Linked DNA regions of Homo sapiens: regions 1, 2, 4 and 5 are each linked to region 3. The links are contacts of gene promoters, found by promoter capture Hi-C in blood cells and fetal thymus (Javierre and others, 2016). All regions are on one chromosome and are shown on one strand. The core of a region is centred on a gene start or on the middle of the fragment in contact, and the rest is flanking DNA. Distances in the headings are between cores, read along the strand shown. Region 1 has its middle 7.8 kb from the start of FANCF. Region 2 holds the start of SVIP (small VCP interacting protein). Region 3 holds the start of ARL14EP (ARF like GTPase 14 effector protein). Region 4 overlaps TRAF6 (TNF receptor associated factor 6). Region 5 holds the start of TRIM44 (tripartite motif containing 44).

Region 1 (2,700 bases), core at 35-2,534, 7.7 Mb before region 3:
TCTGAGAAACAGTTTATTTTTCCTTCATTTATGAAACTTAGCTTTACTGGATACAAAATTGTTGGCTGATAGTTATTCTGTTTAAGGAGGCTAAAATAGGACCATAGCCCTTTCTGGCTTATAAGGCTTCTGCTGAGAAGTCTGCTGTTAGTCTAAAAGGTTTTACCTTGTAGGTTACCTGATGCTTTTTTCACACTGCTCTTGGAATTCTTTTCTTCACATTGATTTTAGATAGCCTGATGACTTTAGCTCTTGGTGTTGGCCTTTTTGCAATGCATTTCCCAGGAGTTGTTTGAGGTTTTTGTATTTGAATATCTAAATTGCTGGCAAAGCCAGGGAAGTTTTCCTTAATTATTCCCTCAAATAAATAAGTTTTCAAAACTTTTTGCTTTTTCTTCCCACTCAGGAGCATCAATAATTCTTAGGTTGGCCCTTTTACATAATCCCATGTTTCTTAGAGATTTTATTCGTTTCTTTTCATTCTTTTTTTTTTTATTTTTGTGTGATTGGGTTAATTCAAAAACCTTGTTTTCAAGTTCTGGAATTCTTTATTCCACATGGTCTAGTCTAATGTTAAAACTTTTCCCTGCATTTCGTAATTCCCTAAATGTGTCTTTTGTTTCCAGAGTTCTGATTTTTTTTTTCTTTAAAATATCAATCTGTTTAGGAAATCTTTCATTCATAACCTGATTTTCTTTTACATTTTATTGTGTTGTTTTTCACCTTTTTCTTGTATTTCCTTGAGGAACTTAATAATCAACCTCTTGAACTCTTTATCTGGTATTTTAAAGATTTCATCTTAGTTTGGATCCATCGCTGGAGAGTCAGTGGAATCTTTGTGGTGTTATAGAATCATGTTTTTACATATTGCTAGAGTTGTTTTTCTGATTTCTTCTCATTTGGGTAGACCATTTCTTCTAATTACTTCTTGAATTTATTTTTTATTCAAATGTGGTTTTTCAATTTCTGTTTTTCCCTCTTGAGGATATGACTGTAATGTTTATAGTTTATTTTAGCCTATTTCAGCTCTTGGTGTTTTCAGTGATGAAGAATCTGTGTGAAACATCTGTATGAACTCCTTGGTGTGATGGCCTTCTCAGATGCTGGTTATAGTAGCAATGTGCTCAGTGTGTGAGCAGGTTTACTGTCTCCTATGGGGCCAGAATGACAAAGATGTCACAAAGCTTATTTTGTTCCCCAGTGGTGTACATTAATTCATTAATTAATTTATTTATTTTCCCAGTATTTTATTCACTGGGTTGAACAGTTCAGGCTTCAGGCCAGTAGGAGGTGTTCATGGGTAAAAACAGGCTGCAGCTAAAGCAGGTGTGGAATGCAATATCCAGTGATGGGCAGAGGTCCTAACCTTGACAGAGGCAGCTGGAGAAGCTTTCAGTGAAATGCACTAAGGTCTTTTCAGGGTGAAGGGAGGAGCCACTGTAGTTCCCCAACCAGGCCAGCAGGAAAGTGATCCAACTCCCAGTCACACTCCTGACCCAGTGTTCTAGCTATTCAGATGAGACAGGCATCCCTTTTCTTCTGTAGGAATGGTGATGTTACATGTAGAAAAGGACTATGACTCTATCCCTCATGTAAGTCTGCACCTGGAGGGCACTCCTCCTGTGGGGATGCAGTCACCCGAAAGTGTTCCAGGAAGCCTCTCTACATGTGTACCCATGCCAAGCTCTTGTGGGAGAAGCCACAGCTATGTTTGCAGTGATGGGCAAGAGGAAGTGTATTAGTCTGTTTTCAAACTGCTGAGGAAGACATACCCAAGACTGGGCAATTTATAAAGAAAAGAGGTTTAGTTGATTCACAGTTCCACGTGGCTGGGGAGGCCTCACATTCATGGCGGAACATGAAGGAAGAGCAAAGGGATGTCTTACACAGTGGCCAGCAAAGAGAGAATGAGAGCCAAGTGAAAGGGGTTTCCGCTTATAAAACCATCAGATCTTGTGATACTTAGTCACTACCATGAGAACATAATGGGGGAAACTGCTCCCATGATTCAGTTATCTCCCACTGGGTTCCTCCCACAACATGTGGGAATTATGGGAGCTACAATTCAAGATAAGATTTGGGTGGGGACACAACCAAACCATATCAGGAAGAAAAAGTCTTCTTCCCCAGGTTCCTTCATGAGCACCAGGGCTAGCTGACAGTTGGAGTAGAGGCACAAACTTTCTCCACTGAGCCCCACACTGCACCTGTTGTGCCTTTGCTGAAATAAACTCCCCACAAATAGACAGTTTTGGGACTCAAGGCCTGCAGTCTGGATTCTTTGGTCTCACGGGGTGCTCCCTTGATGTGGTATATTCCCACTTCCCCTAGGAGGAGGGATCCCTGAGGGCCAAACTACTGTGAATCCTGCTGCTGCTCTTCTGATTCTAGCCACCCAGTGGGGCTGCCATTCTCCAGGATGGTGCTGGGGAATGTCTGGAAGGGATCCAGTGATAGGACCTGTTCTCTAATCTCACAGTAGTGGGTACCAGCAGAAGTTCTGATGGGGGTGGCAGGGGAGTGATGTAGACTCTGTGAGATTTTCTTGGTTGTGAGATTTTCTTGGTTATAAATGGCCTTAATGTGTTGCTATTCTCAAATGCCAGCTGTAGTAGTAATATGCTGGTCACGTGAATAGACTCAAGACCTCCTGGTTAGCCAGAGTGATGCCCACAATGGTGCTAACTGAGGTCATCCAAA
Region 2 (2,700 bases), core at 166-2,665, 7.5 Mb before region 3:
TTTCTAGGTGCTGGGATACAACAGTGTAAAAACATAGATAAATGTCTCCTCCCAAATGAAACAAATTCCAATTGCGGGCGCACAGACAAATATAATGAAGTAAGTAAACGTCTGTCAGATGGCATGGCAGATAAGTAATGGGAGAATGGGTGGGTGGTATTGTGGGGAATATATTTTGTTTAACGTGGTCAGCAAAAGCTTCACTGGTAAAGTGACATCCAAGCAGTGAGCCGTGTGGTTATCAAGGGAAGAGGGTATAGTATGAGGATGGGGGGGAGGGCTTAACAAATCTGACATGTTATATTTTATCGACAGCCAGAACAACAAAATCAACTTAATTTAAAACAACAGCAGCAACAAAGAGAAGCTGAACTTTCCCACATCAAATTTATAAGTACTAAATTTTTAGTATCTATAGTAGCTGAAGAGTTAATGTACTTCCCAAAAATACTTCATTTTCTTCAACTAATTTTTAGCTAGAGAAGAGAAACAGGTTTATGTTAACTCCCTGTAAGGAGTACTAATGTAAAGATACTGTTAACAGAAAGCTACAAAAAGTGTACATGTATTGTACCACACACCCACTAGCTACATTTGAATTTCAGATAAGCAATGAGTAATGTTTTTGTAGAACTAGATCCCTAATATTGCATGGCACAAAACGATATTATAAACGTATTCCTTGTATATCTGAAATTCGAATGTAACTGGGTGTCCAGTATTTTTATTAAATACGACATTATAAATTGGACACTCTGTACTACATATTCTTTTAAAGGGAGAACGTAAAAGAATGAGATAAATACTAAAAAGAAATCATTAAAAAAACATATCCGATAAAGCTCAGGCGTATAAGCGACTTTCCGAGCACCTTCTTTTAAAAGATGGTAGACACAGTTGAAAACGCACATCTCCTAGACGACTAAAGAGCTCCCGGAGAAAGCAATGTCTTTTCGCGCCGAATTCCATCTACCACATCCCCCGGAATGTCCCACGCGTAACGCCCTCTGCGTGCGCCGGCGCCCTATGAAGATCCGGCGCAGCTAAAGTCAGTGGAAGGTAGAAAGACGCCACAGCCGCCTTTCGACAACTTTTTGTTACAAAAGTGGAGATCTACACGGAGGCGACGGCCTAGGTCGCTCTGACAGGACCCAACGACCCTCCTGACGCGTCCACCCGTCCTCGCTAGCAGGGTCCCCCAGCGGGCTCTCGACCTGCGCCACCAGGTACAATGGCTCGGCCCGCCCCGCAACCCGAGGACAGGTGCTCAAGGCGCGGCCCGGCGGACGCAGGGACCTGCTCTACTCACCAGGTCCGGCGTGGGAGGCGCGGACTCCCCGGGACAAGGAAAACACAGCCCCATAGGGACGACAGCTTGAGAACCCTGACCGGGTCCGGCCCAGGCCAGGCGGCGCTAACTGCGCGGTCCGGAGCCGGTCCCTGGTCCTCCGCGCTTGCCCCGCCCCCACCGCCCTCCACTGGCTCGGCTCCGCCCCAGCGGCAACGCCCCGCCCCCACCCCGCAGCTCTGCCCCGCCTCGCCTCTCTGCGGCAACGCCCCCCTCTTCTCGCGACACCAACCAGTCCCACAGCTCAGCTGCGCCCCCTTAAGGCATTGCCCCTTCCTCACCCACAGCTCCGCCTACCCCCGCCCCGCGACCGCTGGGCTTGTGGCCAAAGCCTAGGTTCCAGGAAACACCTGCTGTGGGTAGCAATGCAGGGAAGGGATGGAAAAGCTTCGCTACGGTTCCAAAGCTCTTCCTGCTAACCTTGCCTTACCATTTATAAATGAATGAGTGGTACAGCTCTGGGTAGTTCATGCTACCTTTTTTTATGAGATGGGACTCTGGTGTCCTAGAAATTAAAGCCAAAATTCCAAGTAAACATCAGCACCCTTTTCTCCCTTCTTAGTGACAGTGCTATTCCAGAACAGAGGGCAGAATATAAAATCCATTATTATGACGATGAATCTAGCGTCATAAATGTGGCATTAGTTGACATTTCCACTAGTTTCTGGTATTTAGAAGTCATTTATCCTTCCGAGAGAAATAATAAAGTTTCATCTACTGAGAAATGTTTTAATGATTCTCCTCAAATTTTAATAAGTATGAGAATCAGCTGGGCAACTAGTTAAAATTTACTTGCTGATTTAGTAAGTATAAGGTGGGACCTGAGATTCATTTCCAGTAAACCCACAGGTGATACTAAAGTTACTGATCTCGTCTCCACACAAATGCTTTTATTTTATTTTATTTTATTTTTGCATTCTATTAGTTATTTCTGCTTATGTAAAAATTTTCAAACATTACAAAAAGGTAGGATGTATAGTGACAGCGTCTCAGAAACCATTGTCGGCTTTTTGATATACTTGCTGGTTAATTTTTTATAGATGTATAATTTACATATAATATTATGCACTTATTTTGATTGTAGAGTTCACTGAGTTTTAACAAACATGTGATCACCACATTCAAGATATGTAAGTTTTCCATCACCCAAAAACCTTCTATTGTACCCAATCCCATTCAATACTTTATCCTATACCTAGATCCAGGAAACTATTAATTTGTTTAATATCACTTTAGTCTTTAAGTTTTGCATAAATGTTAATATCACTATAGTCTTTAAGTTTTACATAAATGAAATATACAATATGTTTTGCAAAAGCCATAATATTTTCTAAATTCTTCCATGTTATTGA
Region 3 (2,700 bases), core at 23-2,522:
ACCTTTTCACTGGATACTTAAATTGAATAGGCTATATTATTTAATAATCTTAATTTGATCTGTGAGCCTTCTCTGTTTCATTACCTTTAGGATAGCTTGCCTAGTTTACTAGGAAGTCACAATTGCATCAAATTAAGTTCCATGCAGGCATTAATCTCCTCCCAGAACGCTCCTGCTTTAGCCCCTATCATTTTATCCTGTTTATATCCATGTGTTTCTGTTATGACACTTTTCACACCACACTGTGATTAACTGTTTATTCCTCTCTCACTAGTCTGTGAGCTCCTTGGAAGCAGAAATAAATTTTGTTTTTGTCTAATCATTGCTTAACAAAGTGCCAACCACAAAGTAAACAGTAAAAGAATTACAGAATGCAACCTCCTGCAGACACAGTTGAAGAAACTATTCATTGTTTTTTCCTTTCTGTCATTCCCTAGTTCTAGGCATCAAATCGCTTGCCTAGTCGGCGAGCAGTATGAAAGTGGTGGGAGGACCATAGACGCACTGCAGAAAACAGCTTACAGTAGATGCAGAGAATTACTAGCACGCTTGGGCCTTGGTGGGGCTTGTCTTATTTACCTGTTCCTCATTTTTCACTGGGAGTTTAAAACAAGTTTTTGTTTCCCTGCTATCCCGACCTTAAGATAATTAAAAGGCCAAGAATCTTTAAGAGACTTTCAGTTCTCCTGGATTCTAGATAATAAAACCCACTTTAAAAATTAATGAGCACCTATACTGTGACAGACAATAAGGATACAATAAAAATACCATTTCTGTTCTGAGAAAATTTACAAGCATCTTCCTGGAGCCTACATTTTACTCGAAGTAATAGCTATTTTTATAGCTTACAATAAAAGATGCATTTTGGAATATATTTCGCTTGAATTAAAGAAATAGAATGTGAGACCTTAAACAAAGGGTCCGTTCTTCAGATCCTTTTAACTCACACTCTCCTTCAGGGGTCGGGGTATTTGGGTGCAAAAGTTTACTATCACGCACAGGTGTAGAGATGTACAAATACGATCCAATTTAGTGGAAACTGTGTCTTGTAAGAGATGGCCCCCAGGGACCTCCCACATCCCTAACCTCTCGGAGGACTGCAAAAGACAGCATCTGAAGCACCTCTTGCCTCGCCTTGAATCATTTGCCACTTCACACCGCCCCGCCCCTTCCGTCCCCGGAGGCGGCCAGCCTCGTGTCCGCTCTAGGCTTCTCCCGGACGTCTCTTTGTGGTGGCGTTGAGCTCCTCTAGCCCGCGCTTGCCGTCCTCTCAGTGGTAGCGCGGGGACTGGCTGGGAAGCGGTCGGTCGAGTGTGGCCTGTGTGGACTCGCATCTTGCCCGAAGCCGGGCGGAGGAGAGCTCAAGCTAAGGTGGAAGGGGAACGGGGGAGGCCCTGGAGAGGAGTGGGAGAGTGGAGACAGGCCCCTGGGTGGCGAGGGAGCCCGGCGGCGTAACGGGGGAACCCGGGGAGAGGTGGAAGAGGAGGCCCGCACACGTGAGGGGGATTTCCAGCTGCTGGCCGGGGCCTCTCACCCCTACCCCCGCGTAGTTCATCTGCGACGCAACGCCTTGTGTCAAAGCCCAGCACAGGTTCTGCCGCCTCTGACCTCTCTGAGGGTCGTCGCCTGTCCTGTAGGCCCAGGACCTTCAAAGCTACGATTTTGACGTGAACTACTTAGGGTTATTGTGGCCTTGAACTCCGTAGACAGCCTTTATCTCTGCTATTTTTGTTTTTAATTTTTCAAATCAGAATCCTTTCAACCCTGGCCGTTTGAGGCCAAAGGCTAATGTTTATTTTTCCATCCCGGTACCATGAACTTAGTAGGTGCCCACTGGACGGATCTGGTGGTTTTAGTCATTTGTAAATAGCCGTGAACTAAGGAAGAAATGTATGTGGCCTCTTACAGGGTTGGGTTGGGAATCATTGCAGGGTTTGGGGGCACTCTGTTAGGCATGATAACAACAGCTCTAGGCTTGAGTTTCTTCATCTGTAAATGAGAATGATAGTACTTTCCTCAGGGTGGCTATGAAGGTTCCTGAAATGATGTTTGCCCTAAGCACTGTACCTGGCATGTCCTGACTACCACACTTGAACCAAATCTTTTCAATGGTGTTATGGACTATATTTTTGTTTTAAATTGCCTTTACCTTTCTTATTGTACCTAGATCTTCCTGAGGATTGAGACTCTCCTCTTTGCCTTTGGGCCAATTGTCATGTTATAGGTAATCAGTATTTGAAGATGACAGGCACAAAAAGTTCACAGTTGCAGGATGCGTGACTTTTGTAGGCGTATGTACCCATAACTAAAGCTCCTGATTTGGGGAGTAGGGGTAGATTAAATTATATTTTTATTAAATAAGAGATAATCTGGGAAGACGCTGTGTAAGTTGTAAGACCCTATGCCAAGAAAAGCCTTTAATTTTTTTCATAAAACATTTCATGAAAACTTTTTTTATGTTTTTCATAAAAGAGACATCAGTTGACCTAAAAACGAAGTAAATTTTTTGTTTTGTTAAATTTCCTCTAAATGTTACTTTTCCCACTAATAAGGAGACTGGTAACAAACTAAAAAACTATGTTAAGGGAAATTAACATATTGGAACGGGTATTTCTGCATCTCCCCTACAAATTTAGGAAGAAAAAGTGAGTTCCCTAATTAATCCTCAATTCCCTCTGCTGTTGTTTTGTTAGTGGCTGT
Region 4 (2,700 bases), core at 35-2,534, 6.2 Mb after region 3:
AAAATTTGTTGTCTGGTGTAGCCACCTTCATCAACGATCGTAGCTAGATCTTCTAGATAATGTGCTGTAGTTTTACATCAACACTTGCTCTTTCATCTTGCACTTTTATGTTACGGAGATGCGTTTCTTTCCTTAAACCTCATAAACCAATCTCTGTTAGCTTCCAACTTTTCTTTTGCAGCTTCCTCACCTCTCTCAAACTTTACAGAATTGAAGAGAATTAGGACCTTGCTCTGGATTAGGTTTTGGATTAAGGAAATGTTGTGGCTAGTTTGATCTTCCATCCAGACCATTACAACTTTCTCCATATCAGCAATAAGGCTGTTTCACTTTCTTATTAGTGAGTTCACTGGAGTACCACTTTTAATTTCCTTCAAAAACTTTTCCTTTCTATTCACAATTTGGCTAAATGGCCCATTTTGACTTCTGATGTGCCTTCTTCAGTAAGCATAATTATTTCTAGCTTTTGATTTAAAGTGACAGACATGTGGCTCTTTGGTTTACTTGAACACTTAGAGGCCATTGTAGGATTATTAATTGGTCTAATTTCAATATTGCTGTGTCTCAGGGGAGTAGGGAGGCCTGAGGAGAGGGACAGTAAGGGAACCAGCTGGTCAGTGGAGCAGTCAGAGCTCTCACATTTATTAAGTTCATCATCTCATATGGGTGTGGTGCATGTACTCCAAAACAACAATTACAATAGTAACATCAAAGATCGCTGATCACAGATCACTATAACAGACATAATAAAGTTTAAAATATTCCAAGAATTACAAAAATGTGACAGACAAATACAAAGTGAGCACACGCTGTTGGAAAAATGGCGTGCAAAGACTTGCACAACACAGGGTTGACATAAATCTTCAATATGTTAAAAAAAAAAAACAAAAAAGTATCCGGGAAGTGCAAAAAACCAGTGCTATAAAATGAGGTATATCTGTACATTTCTGTGTCCAATTACTTCCTTAGGTAAATTTCCTAGAGGTAGAATTGTTGGATCAGAGGGTATGTAACTTTTTAAGCTTTCTGATAGATAATGCTGGTTATCTAATATGTATCAAAGACATTCTAATTTCCACTCACACAAGCACAGTATATATGCAAGAGTCCATTTTCTCTACGCTTGACAACATCAGGTATATTTCAGTCTTGAACCATTTTTTTTTTAAGTAAAATCACTTTTGAGAAATTAGTATTTGTTATTTGGTGTAGGACATATATCCAAGTGCTGGCCACAAGACAAAGGCAGAAATTATGAAGCTAGGTGTATCTTTTCTTTTCTGCCCAAATGTCCAGTTTAAAATATAGTTTATTGGATAGTCTATACACTGCCTGCTTCCAGTCCAGTTCAAAAGGCTTGAAGGTCTTTAGGTCTGAAGAGACCTTTTATAGCTAATGTGTTCCTAAGAAAATCTGTCTAATCAGTTATAATTCCTTAAAAGGAACTCCACTGTGGGAATGCAGTGTGACACATAAAAGTGAGCATGTTCAAAATCTATTTGCCTTCAAGTTTCACATTACTTTCCACGCTTTAAGATGCAATCCAGAAGCTTTCTATTTTCCAAATAAACTTTTTCATATAGTTATCCTTTAAGTCCACAGTATTTAGTTTCATGTAACTAGACATAAAGGGAAAATTAAGTTAAAAACAATTCTTGACTGCCACTTAGCATTTTTGTTTCCTCTTTCTTTGGTAAAACATTTTGTCCCTTTAGTTTTAAGAACTGCAATGACTTAAGGAAAAATCACCTAACTTAATTATAACGATAACTAACACTAAGAGAAGAACAAAAAGTGCTTTGTATATATACGTATATACACATAAATGTATATACGTGTATATATGTATATATACATGTATTATACATACATAAATGTATATATGTATATATACATGTATTATACATACATAAATGTATATATGTATATATACATGTATTATACATACATAAATGTATATATGTATATATACATGTATTATACATACATAAATGTATATATGTATATATACATGTATTATACATACATAAATGTATATATGTATATATACATGTATTATACATACATAAATGTATATATGTATATATACATGTATTATACATACATAAATGTATATATGTATATATACATGTATTATACATACATAAATGTATATATGTATATATACATGTATTATACATACATAAATGTATATATATATACATGTATTATACATACATAAATGTATATATGTATATATACGTGTATACATGCATATATACATGTATATATGTATATATACGTGTATACACGTATATATACATGTATATGTATACATACACGCGCGTGTATATATGTATACATACACGCGCGTGTATATATGTATACATACACGCGCGTGTATATATGTATACATACACACGCGCGTGTATATATGTATACATACACGAGCGTGTATATATGTATACATACACGCGCGTGTATATATGTATATATACACATACATACATGTATTATACATATAAACATATACAAATATATGTATATATTATATATGTGTATATATACACATATATACATGTATTTTATATATGTGTATATATATACATATATATACACACACTTTTTTTTTTGTCAGGGTCCTGCTCTATTGCCCAGGCTGGAGTGCAGTGGCACGATCATGGCTCATTGCAGCCTCCACCTCTTGGGCTCAAGTGATCC
Region 5 (2,700 bases), core at 96-2,595, 5.3 Mb after region 3:
TAAAAACTATTAAAAAGGTTTTTTTACCCCACCTCATCCCCTGGTATGTTTGAGGAAAGCATCTGGAAATTCTAACTCAAAATCATCTAAGGGAATCAATGTAAAACAGACACCATTCCATCCCCTTTCATCCTTCTTAATACACCTCAGCCTCTCCCTTGACTAGATAAAAACGTAATTTTCCCTCTCCCAAATACAGTGCAAAACAAAAACTCTTCTGTGAATGGAGAGACATGGATATGGGGTAGAGGTGGAGACTTGCCTACATTACCAGCAGCCAGCCGAAAATGCCCTGTGTGTGTAAAATATGTTCCTTCAAAGGGGCATTGTGAGCACTAAATATAATTTGTGCCAAAAATAATAATGAAAGCTTAGTGAATACTCTACAGTGCAGGCATCGTTACATTTAATCCACAAAACTACCCCATGAGGTAGATATTTACCGTTCTTTTCACTTAACATCTTTTTTAAAAAGCGGAAAACAGAATGATGAATTAACTTGTCCATGGTCATAAAACTGATAGGTAGTGGCACCAGGATTTGGGGACCATCGGGCAGAGGATCTTCCAAAACCGGCTTTTAAAGAGCCACAAAAAGATGTAGCCGGGTTCTTGGCACTACAGTACTGCTTTATAAACAACAGTTCCCTTCTTTTCTCTTAGAGCCCAGTGGGAATCTAGAGGGACACCTTACATAAAGGAAAATGACTGCAACCTGGACCTGTCACTCGACAAATACTGCCTCTCCCCACCTCACTTCACCTGACGTCTCTGCCCAACCGAAGGCAGCTCTCAGAAAACCGCACAGAGGTTACCACCCCAGAAATTCTGAGATCCTAGGAGGTAGCAATGCAAATAGACAAAGCACAGTATTGCTTTGGATCGAAAATATTTGTTTGCTCATCCTAACTCCAATTCCCCTAGCCTAGAACAAACATAGCCCTTCCGCACTCAGGAAATCCCAAGAGGTCAGGTTCAGTCTGGTAAACAACACTGTCCGGGCACCTTGCAGAACACTGGGGACTGTGACGGGCGGCGACAAATTGGCACAAGAGAGACTGAAATGCACAGGGACACCAGCCTAGTGGCCGTGAAAACTCAAGTTGACACTTCCAGGGAGGGAATGGGGGAGGTGGAGCCCAATTCCTGCTTCTGGAGAGAGTAAGAGACTTCCTCCATCCTCCTTCTCCCTCCTCCTCCTCCAAGGCACGCTGAGATTTGGAGCGGAGGAGCTGAGCCCCGCGGGAAAAGCAGAAAAGGGTCATTGCCACTTTAAATGACTCAGGAAGTAAAAGGAGGCCTCCTGACGGGGAAAGGGAAAGTGGAACCGGGGCGGCGCGGGGGCCGGCGGCTGCCGCGATCTCTCCCTGGTAGCGGGAGGCTGAGCGGGCGGCGCGACGCGGGGGCCGACGGGGGCGCCGGGTGGCCGCGCCGGAAGTGCCTTGCGCGGCAGAGGAAGCGCAGGGACAGAGCGGAGCAGGCCGAGCCGGCGGAAAGGGTCTTTGCTGCTGCGCCCGGGCAGGGGCTGCCGCGGCCCCAGGTCCCGCTTCGAGACGCGGCGCGGTCCAGGCGGGAGGCGACTCCCTAGGAAGGGACCCGGGGCGGGAGGAGGAAGTGAGGCCGCGCGGAAGGAAGGCGGCGAGCCCCGGGGCCCCGAGGCCTTGGCCGCGTCACAGCACCCACATGGCCTCTGGAGTGGGCGCGGCCTTCGAGGAACTGCCTCACGACGGCACGTGTGACGAGTGCGAGCCCGACGAGGCTCCGGGGGCCGAGGAAGTGTGCCGAGAATGCGGCTTCTGCTACTGCCGCCGCCATGCCGAGGCGCACAGGCAGAAGTTCCTCAGTCACCATCTGGCCGAATACGTCCACGGCTCCCAGGCCTGGACCCCGCCAGCTGACGGAGAGGGGGCGGGGAAGGAAGAAGCGGAGGTCAAGGTGGAGCAGGAGAGGGAGATAGAAAGCGAGGCAGGGGAAGAGAGTGAGTCGGAGGAAGAGAGCGAGTCAGAGGAAGAGAGCGAGACAGAGGAAGAGAGTGAGGATGAGAGCGATGAGGAGAGTGAAGAAGACAGCGAGGAAGAAATGGAGGATGAGCAAGAAAGCGAGGCCGAAGAAGACAACCAAGAAGAAGGGGAATCCGAGGCGGAGGGAGAAACTGAGGCAGAAAGTGAATTTGACCCAGAAATAGAAATGGAAGCAGAGAGAGTGGCCAAGAGGAAGTGTCCGGACCATGGGCTTGATTTGAGTACCTATTGCCAGGAAGATAGGCAGCTCATCTGTGTCCTGTGTCCAGTCATTGGGGCTCACCAGGGCCACCAACTCTCCACCCTAGACGAAGCCTTTGAAGAATTAAGAGTAAGTATTGGGCCTTCAGAGCATAAACCTAGGGGTCAGGACACCTGGGTTTCAACTCAGGTGGCCTGGCTGTGACCACATTCGCTTTCACTGTGTCCCTAAGAAGCTAGTCTTTCCAACTTTTTGGGAGCAGTTCTTATTCACCGTTTTTGGTTGAACTCTTTTGAGAATCTGATGAAAGTTCTGGACTCTGACCTGAGAAAATACACACAAAATCTAGTATACAATTTCTAGAAAATTGCAAGTTTCTGGTCTGTGGATCCCAGGTAAAGCATTTCTTGGGAGTTTTGACCCCACTTAGGCCAATTTCCACAGCATCACTATTGTTGAAACTGGTGCTTTGTGCTAG

What was found. The method cuts DNA at HindIII sites, captures the fragments that hold promoters and counts their contacts. A CHiCAGO score of 5 or more calls a contact.
Region 1: a fragment that was not itself captured here is called in contact with the fragment with the promoter of ARL14EP in region 3 in 1 of 17 cell types (non-activated CD4 T cells); the score reaches 5.6 in non-activated CD4 T cells.
Region 2: a contact is called between the fragment with the promoter of SVIP here and the fragment with the promoter of ARL14EP in region 3, in 3 of 17 cell types (total B cells, naive B cells and total CD8 T cells). The highest score is 9.2, in total B cells.
Region 4: a fragment that was not itself captured here is called in contact with the fragment with the promoter of ARL14EP in region 3 in 2 of 17 cell types (naive CD8 T cells and non-activated CD4 T cells); the score reaches 7.5 in naive CD8 T cells.
Region 5: a contact is called between the fragment with the promoter of TRIM44 here and the fragment with the promoter of ARL14EP in region 3, in 2 of 17 cell types (total CD4 T cells and non-activated CD4 T cells). The highest score is 15.0, in total CD4 T cells.

Annotation. Positions count from the first base shown.
Region 1 is chr11:22,632,274-22,634,973 of GRCh38, forward strand. It overlaps a transcript of GAS2 not described here. Among named protein-coding and RNA genes, the nearest start is that of FANCF, 7.8 kb to the left of the region's middle. The HindIII fragment of the contact is 205 bases long and covers 1,183-1,387 here.
Region 2 is chr11:22,828,386-22,831,085 of GRCh38, forward strand. It overlaps SVIP (small VCP interacting protein), which reads right to left and starts at 1,416. Exons shown (of 4, transcript NM_148893.3): 1 at 1,310-1,416. The coding sequence starts at 1,363. It overlaps LINC02718 (long intergenic non-protein coding RNA 2718), which reads left to right and starts at 1,029. Exons shown (of 11, transcript NR_187210.1): 1 at 1,029-1,226. RefSeq lists an enhancer at 1,011-1,320 and a silencer at 1,471-1,540. The HindIII fragment of the contact is 1,537 bases long and covers 197-1,733 here.
Region 3 is chr11:30,321,832-30,324,531 of GRCh38, forward strand. ARL14EP (ARF like GTPase 14 effector protein) reads left to right here and starts at 1,273. Exons shown (of 4, transcript NM_152316.3): 1 at 1,273-1,371. It overlaps ARL14EP-DT (ARL14EP divergent transcript), which reads right to left and starts at 1,115. Exons shown (of 2, transcript NR_187437.1): 1 at 1,087-1,115. RefSeq lists enhancers at 935-1,540, 1,053-1,302 and a silencer at 1,373-1,502. The HindIII fragment of the contact is 9,349 bases long and covers 1-2,700 here.
Region 4 is chr11:36,505,264-36,507,963 of GRCh38, forward strand. All of the region lies in intron 1 of TRAF6 (TNF receptor associated factor 6), which reads right to left. Among named protein-coding and RNA genes, the nearest start is that of TRAF6, 3.7 kb to the right of the region's middle. The HindIII fragment of the contact is 528 bases long and covers 1,021-1,548 here.
Region 5 is chr11:35,661,430-35,664,129 of GRCh38, forward strand. TRIM44 (tripartite motif containing 44) reads left to right here and starts at 1,346. Exons shown (of 5, transcript NM_017583.6): 1 at 1,346-2,351. The coding sequence starts at 1,683. RefSeq lists enhancers at 1,003-1,322, 1,534-2,034 and a silencer at 1,363-1,742. The HindIII fragment of the contact is 12,326 bases long and covers 369-2,700 here.